2 separate regions of the Homo sapiens genome follow, and region 1 is linked to region 2. The links are contacts of gene promoters, found by promoter capture Hi-C in blood cells and fetal thymus (Javierre and others, 2016). All regions are on one chromosome and are shown on one strand. Each heading gives the region's core, a stretch centred on a gene start or on the middle of the fragment in contact. The rest is flanking DNA. Distances are from core to core; before and after follow the strand shown. Region 1 holds the start of ITPRIPL1 (ITPRIP like 1). Region 2 holds the start of STARD7-AS1 (STARD7 antisense RNA 1).

Evidence for each region. The method cuts DNA at HindIII sites, captures the fragments that hold promoters and counts their contacts. A CHiCAGO score of 5 or more calls a contact.
Region 1: a contact is called between the fragment with the promoter of ITPRIPL1 here and the fragment with the promoter of STARD7-AS1 in region 2, in 4 of 17 cell types (neutrophils, monocytes, erythroblasts and 1 more). The highest score is 13.0, in neutrophils.

The regions. Positions count from the first base shown.
Region 1 is chr2:96,323,004-96,327,497 of GRCh38, reverse strand. It overlaps ITPRIPL1 (ITPRIP like 1), which reads right to left and starts at 2,181. Exons shown (of 3, transcript NM_001008949.3): 1 at 1,933-2,181; 2 at 1,649-1,751; 3 at 1-856. The coding sequence starts at 1,658. RefSeq lists an enhancer at 1,494-1,994 and a silencer at 2,017-2,266. The HindIII fragment of the contact is 6,653 bases long and covers 1-2,776 here.
Region 2 is chr2:96,206,791-96,211,171 of GRCh38, reverse strand. It overlaps STARD7-AS1 (STARD7 antisense RNA 1), which reads right to left and starts at 2,756. Exons shown (of 4, transcript NR_046322.1): 1 at 2,193-2,756. It overlaps STARD7 (StAR related lipid transfer domain containing 7), which reads left to right and starts at 2,345. Exons shown (of 8, transcript NM_020151.4): 1 at 2,345-3,027. The coding sequence starts at 2,738. RefSeq lists silencers at 2,099-2,318, 2,669-2,928 and an enhancer at 2,061-2,651. The HindIII fragment of the contact is 17,331 bases long and covers 1-4,381 here.

The sequences.
Region 1 (4,494 bases), core at 932-3,431, 120 kb before region 2:
TGGTGGTGCACCAGGCACAGCACGTCCCCTAGGAGTTTCTCACGCTTGCACACACATTCTGACTCCACCAGCACACAGCCACAGCGGCGGCCCAGGGCTGGGTCCCTCATCTCCAGGACAAACATGGTGCCCTGTGGGGGGACAATGGGCACCAGGATATCAAATTTCTGGGTCTCATGGAGGGTTCCCCATTTCTCAAAGGCAGCCCCGATGCCCAGGCAGTCTTCCAATTGTGGGTGAGCCTCTTGGCGGCTGAGCACCCGACAGGCCTCAATGAGATCATCCACAAAACTCTCCACAAACTCACAGGTGCAGGGCAGGTCACGGATGGCATTTTGGACATAGTGTTTGTAAAAGGAGTCCAGGGCCTCCTGGGAGGGGAAGTCAGTAAGCCAGTTGTAAGAGGTGACAGGGACAACACGGACTTCCTCCTCCTCCTCCTCACTGCTGGAATCAAAGGCCGGTTCATGCTGCATGTTCTGTCGCAGGAGCTCAAAGACGAGAAAAAGGCAAAAGAGGCCAGTGTTCCACAGGTTTCCCAGCATCCAGCCCAGAGGCCCTTCCTGGCCATCGGCCTGGAACGGCCACCCCATGTCTTTCTTCCCCAGCACTAACTGGTCACTGGATGTGTCTCCTGTCCAGAAGTTCTCTGCCTTCTGCCTCTGCTCAGCGGCTCGCTTTCTCTCTTCAAACTCCATCTCTAGCAGGCGCATCTCCTCACTCATTCGCTTCTCCAGCTGCCGACTCCTGGCTAATGTGTCCAGGTCCATCCGATCACTGACCATCAGAGGGTGGTGAACAACATACATCACTGCCAAGAACAGCAGGCTTATCACAGCCATGGAGGCCTCTGCATCTGGAGAAGTAGGAGAGTAGGAGTCAGTGGTCATCTTCCAGACTTATCTGCTCTCTAGCTCACATTCCCCAGAGCCCTGGTACCCCAAATTCTGAAAATCAGCTACTCAGGAGGAACAGAAAGCCCACAGAGCTTGGCTTGGACACAGCAAGGGTGGTCGGCCTGGGAGGAGGTTCGAGAGAAAAGAGGGCGAAAGGATGTGCCACTCAGTCTCTCTCCTGCTTTCCTTCCACATGGTGTGGGTGGTATTTAGGCTTCCAGAAAGTGTACATGGGACTGTTTTCATTCCTGTGTAGGATGGGGAGGGGGACCCTTGTGGTAGGGTGGCCTCACCCGACTCCTCAGTCAACCATGGGCACCAGATATGACCTGCTGATCCCAGAGGCTCCCTTTTATAGCCAGAAAGCCCTGAACCTGCCTGGGTGACACCTTTCCTCTGCCCCGGCAGCCAGTTGTAGCATTCCACTTCCTCTGTGACTTCACAGTCTTCATTCTGCTCACCCAGTATGAAGTGAGCCTCATCACTCAGCCTCTCCCTCTCTGCCCAGGGAGCGCAAGAGAGGCACAGTGCCGCCAGCTGCTTGCTACGGTGCCCTCTCTGCTCCTAAGGGGCTAGTGGATACCCCGTGTGTGGGCAGGCTAGCTTCACTTCTTAGTTCAGAAAACTGTCTGCAGAACCAGGTGCCCAAGGCCTACCTGACAGCCGGCAGTGGTCAGTTCCACTGCCTCCCCACCCACCCGTGAAGCCCGAGCTTCTGCCACTCACCCTAATTCACAAGCTACCGCGCTTACCAACATTCATGAAGGACTATGCCGTGTGGACGCTGAAGCCAGCTGGGCCTATCCTCCCTTTGGAACTTGGCCTTGCTTCGTCTCCCCGCCCTCTCTAGGAGCCCTGTTAAAATGTACAAGGTACCTGGGGGCTTTGGCTCAAATCGGAACCCGACCCTCCCCCCATTCATAACTTCCCCAAATTCCACGCCCAGAGATTTGTACTCTCACCCGCCTATCCGTAGGAGGCCAAGGGCCCATCCTACCTCGGGATGTCTCCCGGGACCCAGGGCCAGGTTACTCACCGTCAGTGTTAGTAGGAACACGATCTTAAAGAGACAGCGCGGCCTGACCGCCACTGCTTTTTTCCCGGCAGGGTGGGGGCGTCCGGTTCATCGCTGGGGCCGCCCGCGGGAGTGGCCCTGCTCCCCTTTCCTGGGTTATAGACCATGCTTGTCCGAGCGTCTGAACGTCTGGCTGAGCGCGGTGGGCCCCTACGACCCCCAGCACGCGGCTCCGAGGGCGCCCGCGCGCCGCAGCCGCTCCCGCCGTCCGGGCTCCTCCCCGCCCACCCAGTACAAGCTCCTCCCCGCCCAAACCCCCGTGGCCCAGCGTGCAGGGGCAGCGGCCTCCCCACACCGGGTCTCTGTCCGCACCGAGGCCCCCGTGGGTTTGCTGGGAGAGTGGAGGGGCCGTGGCCACACACTCTCCGCTGCTCGGCCTCCCTGGGGTGGCAAATGGGGCACCGCCGTGCCTGCTGTCAGCTGCACTCAGCTCAGTTCAGTGGAGAACAGACTTACTAGGATTCGGGTGTAAGGATGATGGTGGCAAAACTAGGAATTGACCGAGAAAAGCCATTCTCACTTCGGGCTGGCCCTGAGCAAAATGGCACACGAAATAAGATGTGGTTTCAGCACCCTAAATGTGCTTCCCTCCCAGCCCACGCCCAGACTCAGGCATCTTTCCCCAACCCCTTTCTCATATCAAAGTGACTCTCATGAAAGAACAGACAGCACCCAAAGACCTTACTTGGGGCCTTGCTTGCTACTCACTGGCCACGTGGGAGTAAGAATCCTACCTACAGGGCAGCTCTGCTGATACATGGGTGTATAAAGGAGAACTTTATACGGTGTGGAGGCTGGACAAGCTTTATCACACCTTAAGAAACACAACAGAATGGGTTTCCTGAAAGGGATCTTCAGATATCAGAAAGAGCCCTTAGTCTTCCTGTCTTGTGTCAGCTATCCAAGAAGAAAAGGAAGTGATGACCCCTTGATACTAACTCACTAAAATCCCTCTGCTGAAAGACAAGTTTCAGGGTTTTTATTTGTTTGTTTGTTTTTGAGAAAGAGTTTCGCTCTGTCACCCAGGCTGGAGTGTAGTGGCACCATCTTGGCTCACTGCAGCCTACCCGCCCCAGGTTCCAGTGATTCTCCTGCCTCAGCCTACTGAGTAGCTGGGACCACAGGTGTATGCCACCATGTCCAGCTAATTTTTGTATTTTTAGTAAAGACGGGGTTTCACCATGTTGGCCATGCTGGTCTCGAACTCCTGACCTCAGGTGATCTGCCCGCCTCGGCCTCCCAAAATGCTGGGATTATATGTGTAAGCCATCACACATGGCTGGGTTTCAGGTCTTCTTATCCAGTGGCAATGTGTAGGGAGCTCCCAAACAACTTGTACAATACTTCCAAGAATACTGACTTATTTAATTGTGGAGCAGGAAAAACTGTCTGCTAGCTGACAATGACTGAAGTTCCAAAGTTACTTTTTATAAATGTGAATTATGAAAAATAGATCACAGGTTATTGAGCATTCATGCATTTGGAGCAGTAATAATGAAAGTCTCTTATCTTTTCACTTATGACATGATGTCAGGATGCAAAATATATGCTTCAGAGTGTGCAAAAACGATAATGTTTAAGACCATGTGTTTTAAAGTTGTATTATTTTAATTAACAAATAATAATTGTACATATTCATAGGGTGCACAGTCATGTTTCATACATACAATGTATAATTTCAGATTAGGGTAATTAGCATATCCATCATCTCAAACATTTATCATTTCTTTGTGTTGGGAAGGTTCAATCCTCCCTCTAGCTATTTGAAACTATATATTATTACTATTATTATTTTGTGTGTGTGTGTGACGGAGTCTTGCTCTGTCACCCAGGCTGGAGTGCAGTGGCACCATCTCAGCTCACTGCAACCTCCACCTCCTGGGTCAAGCAGTTTTCCTGCCTCAGCCTCCCAAATAGCTGGGATTACAGGCACACACCACCAAGCCCGGCAATTTTTTTGTATTTTAGTAGAGTGGGGGTTTCACCATGTTCTCGAGCTCCTGAGCTCAAGCAATCTGCCCACCTTGGCCTCCCAAAGTGCTGGGATTACAGGCATGAGCCACCATGCCTGGTCTATTATTGTTAACTGTAGTCAACCTACAGTGGTGTGAAACCCTAGTACTTAGTCCTCCCATCTGGCTATAATCTTGAATCCTTTAACAAATCCCTCCCTATCACCACCTTCCCCTCCCCTTCCCAGCCTCTAGCATCCTCTGTTCTACCTTTTACTTCTATTACATCAACTTTTTCTAGGTTCCACATGTGACTGAGAACATGTGGTGTTTATCTTTCTGTGCCTGGCTTATTTCACTTAATATCCTCCAATTCCATCCAAGTTGCTGCAAATGACAGGATTTCATTTTTTTTTATGGCCAAATAGCATTCCATTGTGTACATATACCACGTTTTCCTTATTCATTCATCTATTGTTGGACACATAGGTCAATTCCATATTGGCTATTCTGAATAGTGCAGCTATAAACATGAGGGTGCAGATTTCTCTTTGATATAATGATTTCCTTT
Region 2 (4,381 bases), core at 1,507-4,006:
CCTGTTAGAAAGTGACATTCTTTACTTACCACAGGTCAGGAACCTCGTACAGGGACTGTGTTGACATAGTATGAGGCCAGATTTCCCAAGGGGCTCTATAAGTCAATTTTTTGGCTTATTGGCTCTATAAGTCAACTTTGTTTTTTTTTTTTTTGAGACGGAGTCTCGCTCTGTCGCCCAGGGTGGAGTGTAGTGGCGCGATCTCGGCTCACTGCTGCAAGCTCCACCTCCCGGGTTCACGCCATTCTCCTGCCTCAGCCTCCCGAGTAGCTAGGATTACAGGTGCCCACTACCACGCCCGGCTAATTTTTTGTATTTTTAGTAGAGACGAGGTTTCACCGTGTTAGCCAGGATGGTCTGGATCTTCTGACCTCGTGATCCGCCCGCCTTGGCCTCCCAAAGTGCTGGGATTAAAAGTGTGAGCCACCATGCCCGGCCTAGAGCTCTTTTTTCTAAGAAAAAATCCTTTTAAGGCCAGGCACGGTGGGTCATTGAATCGTGAATTCAATGGGTGGTCTCTGAGCAGTCACCCTGAATCAGGCCTGTTAAACTTCTTTCAGGGCTCACTGAATGTGACTAGATAAATAAGGAGTGTTCTCCAAGTTAGGCCTGCTGGATTTTCATCAGCAATTCCTTCAGAGATCCCCTCCATATATACAAACACACACACGAAGACAAGACAGACAGAAGGCCTTCCAAATTAAGGTCCCTAACCAAGAACTCCAAGAGTACCCCTTCCAAACTATCCTCCTATTCTCCATCTGACAAATCTCCCTGAAATATTCCTGATTGAGAAGTCTCCCGAACCAAGACTCTTCCTAGTTAGGGACAGCCAACTGGGATGCCCCAGGAGCCAAACTGAGACAGACACCCCATGGTGGAGCTACAGACACCCACCATGTGGCTACAGAATCAGTCCGGAGAAGGAAGGAGGCACTGGCAGCACCTAGGATACTCAGCAACCTGCCACCCCATGATGGGGCTATAGCTACAGACACTCCATGACCTGGCTACAGCGCCCCGCTATGGAGCTACAGATACCCTGTGACAGGGCTACAGTTATGGGATGTCTCCCCAGGACTATTTCTCCATTGCGATTAAGTCCATGCATATTGGGCTAGCAGTGCCCCACTGGCAGAGACGGTGCCAGAGTTAGCCCCTAGTCCAAGAGAACTATGTGGCCGCTTAGGCTGGCCTCTGGATCTGTCACCAGAGGTGGGGCTACCGAACCATGGACAGGTAGCCACAAGGGGTATCCCAGACGAACCCCCAAATTTGTAACCGTACAATGGGTTCACCTTGCCCACTGCCTAGACAGAGCCGATTTATCAAGACAGGGGAACTGCAATAAAGAGTAATTCACGCAGAGCCCACTATGAGACTGGAGTTTGTTTCAACATTACTCAATCAGTCTCCCTTAGCATTCCGGGATCAGAGTGTTTAAGGATAATTTGGTGGGTGGGGGAAGGCCAGTGAGTCCAGAGTGTTGACTGGTTGGGTCGAGATGAAATAATAGGGAATTGAAGCTGTCCTCTTGCACTGAGTTGGTTCCTGGGTGGGGGCCACAAGGTCAGATGAGCCAGTTTATCCATCTGGGTGGTGCCAGGATCCAACCAGTGCGGGGTCAGCAAAATATCTCAAGCACTGATCTTAAGAGCAGTTTAGGGGGATCACAATATCGTAGCCTCCAGCTGCATGACTCCTAAACCATAATTTCCAATCTTATGGCTAACTTATTAGTCCTACAAAGGCAGTCTAGTTCCCAGATAAGAAGATTTGTTTTGGGAAAGGGCTGTTATCCTCTTTATTTTAAACTATAAACTAAGTTCCTCCCAAAATTAGTTCACCTAAGCTCAGGAATGAACAAGGACAGAAGCAAGATGGAATTGGTTAGGTCAGATCTCTTTCACTGTCTCAGTTTTAATTCTGCAATGGCGGTTATCACTGGGAGCCCCCAGCCCCCGCAGAGACATGCGGAGCCCCGCCCCCACCCTGCACTCTAATAAAGAAGGGGGCCAGCGTGCCGGCCTCTTAAAACAAGTTAACACCTGGCAGGATTCTAACAGGAACCTGGCCAGGTTTCTCCGCGGGGCGGGGCTGGGACGGCCGGAAGATGGCGGCGACGGCGGCAGCCGGGTCCGAGGGTCACTCTCCAATGCGCCCTTGACGGCTCTCGCCGCCGAGCCACCTACCTTGCTAGCAGGCGGCCTCCGCGCATGCATGAAGGGGCAGGAGGGGGCGGTGACGAGCACTTCACGGCGCCAATGAGCACCCAGGAGCCCAGGTCGCGCCCAATCACGGCCCAGGTGGCGGAGAAAAAGTAGGGTGCGCGCGCGCCGCGCGTGTGGCAGTCGCGGAAGGCGCGGGAGCTTGCGTGCTGCTGGGCCTGAGCTGTCTGTCTCGTTTCTGTCCGCGCGCCCTGCATCCCGGCCCCGGGCGCCCGCTGGAGGTCGCCGAGGAGCCACAGGGCTGACTGGTCTGCTGCCCGGGCCCAGGAGTGCCTGGTGTAGCAGTCGCGGAGCCATCCCGGCGTCTGCTGCCATGACCGACTCTCCCCTCAGAGGAGACTCTTCCTCAGCGGTGGCTGCAGAGACAGATGAGCGGCGGCTCCTGGCCGCGGGACCGTGAGACGGGTTCGTGGCCGGCCATTTAGGGGGACGCTGCGACCACCGCCTGCGCCCCTCCGGACTGGTTCCTTGGGCCCCGGAAGCTCGCGGCGGGCCCTGCGGGAGGCGGCATGCTCCCGCGGAGGCTGCTGGCCGCCTGGCTGGCGGGGACGCGGGGCGGGGGCCTGCTGGCGCTTCTGGCCAATCAGTGCCGCTTCGTCACGGGCCTGCGCGTGCGGCGCGCGCAGCAGATCGCGCAGCTCTACGGCCGCCTCTACTCCGAGAGCTCACGCCGCGTTCTCCTCGGCCGCCTCTGGCGCCGGCTGCACGGCCGTCCTGGCCATGCCTCTGCCTTGATGGCGGCGTTAGCCGGCGTCTTCGTTTGGGACGAGGAGAGGATCCAGGAGGAGGAGTTGCAGAGGTGGGCGCTGCGGCGAGCTCTTTCTGGGCCGTGGGGTGGGGGGGCTTGTGAACCCTGGGGCCTGCCCTGTGGTCGTTGGCCCTTGTTTACCCGGTGGTCTTTTAATTGGCAATACAGTCGATTGAACCTGCTTCAGCAAACCGCGTTGTTATTTGTCTCTGTGTGTCAATTTGCATTTGTCGGGTTATAAAATAGAACTGAAAGTGTGTAGGCTGGTGTGTAGGAGGGAGACTTTGAGTGGGGCGAGCAAGACAGTAAAGAAACAACACTGTAGAAATCAATTAGATAGCGAAGGCATGGAGGCCCTTGTTCATGTAATCTGTAATCTTTAACACAACCAGAAAGGTGCAAATTCAAAACAAATTTTAAATTTGGCCTAAGGGTGGTGGGCTGCTATTTGCAAAATGACTTCAATCCAGATGGGACTCAGGCCTGTGAGAAAAGCCAGGAGAGCCCTCTGTCATCGTGACTCGTGGCAAAATTGAGAGCCTGGAAGCGATTTTGTCCAGGTTACACAAACCAGCAGCCCAGACATTTGAACCTGTAAGAATTAGGTCAGATTTTTGCGACGTTAACTAGAACTTTGGGAATAGTGTCCCATTAGACTCTGAAGTCATGCTGTCGTCATCAAAACTGTGAAAAGCCCAGTACCATTGATTACGTTTGTTAATCTGTAGTTCTGAGACTGTAGTTTCCAGGTAATGTCATGGGGAAACTTTGCTTTGGTTTTTGGTTTACCTTGTGTCTGTATTTTCTTTGCAACAGATATTCTTAAACTGTGCCCTCCCTGCACAGAAAGTACTTTGCCGTGATTTCGGGAACCAGAGACAATCCCCTCCCTCCGCAGATTCCACACTCGCCTGTTTATTCTTGATATTTCCTCCACAGGGAAACAACCTGTTATTCCACATTTTTTGTTAGGTTAAAAATGGAAATACCCCAATAAAGTTTATACCATGGCCTGTGTGGGAGGTGTAACACCCAGATGCCAGGCAGCTATTTGTGCCACACTATGAATTGTGGGTAAATGCAAGTCTATCTTAAGAACTGGGAATACTTTTCCTAGCAGGAAAGATAACTTTTATAAATGCAACTTAAAATAATAACCACAAACAACCTTATTCACAAAAAAGTTAAGCTATCAAAGCGTGATAGGTATTTTGCCTAGTTCCTATTAGTATTCTTTTGCTACTTGGCCATTGGTTATAATCACAGTCTCTTGGGTGTGGGAAATAAAAGAATAGGAAGAAAACTTCTAAGTTGACAAATTATCATTAACTTTTAATTTTCATTTTTGATGATGAAATGTCCGTGTTCCACTTTTTTTTTTTTTTTTTTTTTTTTGAGACGGAGT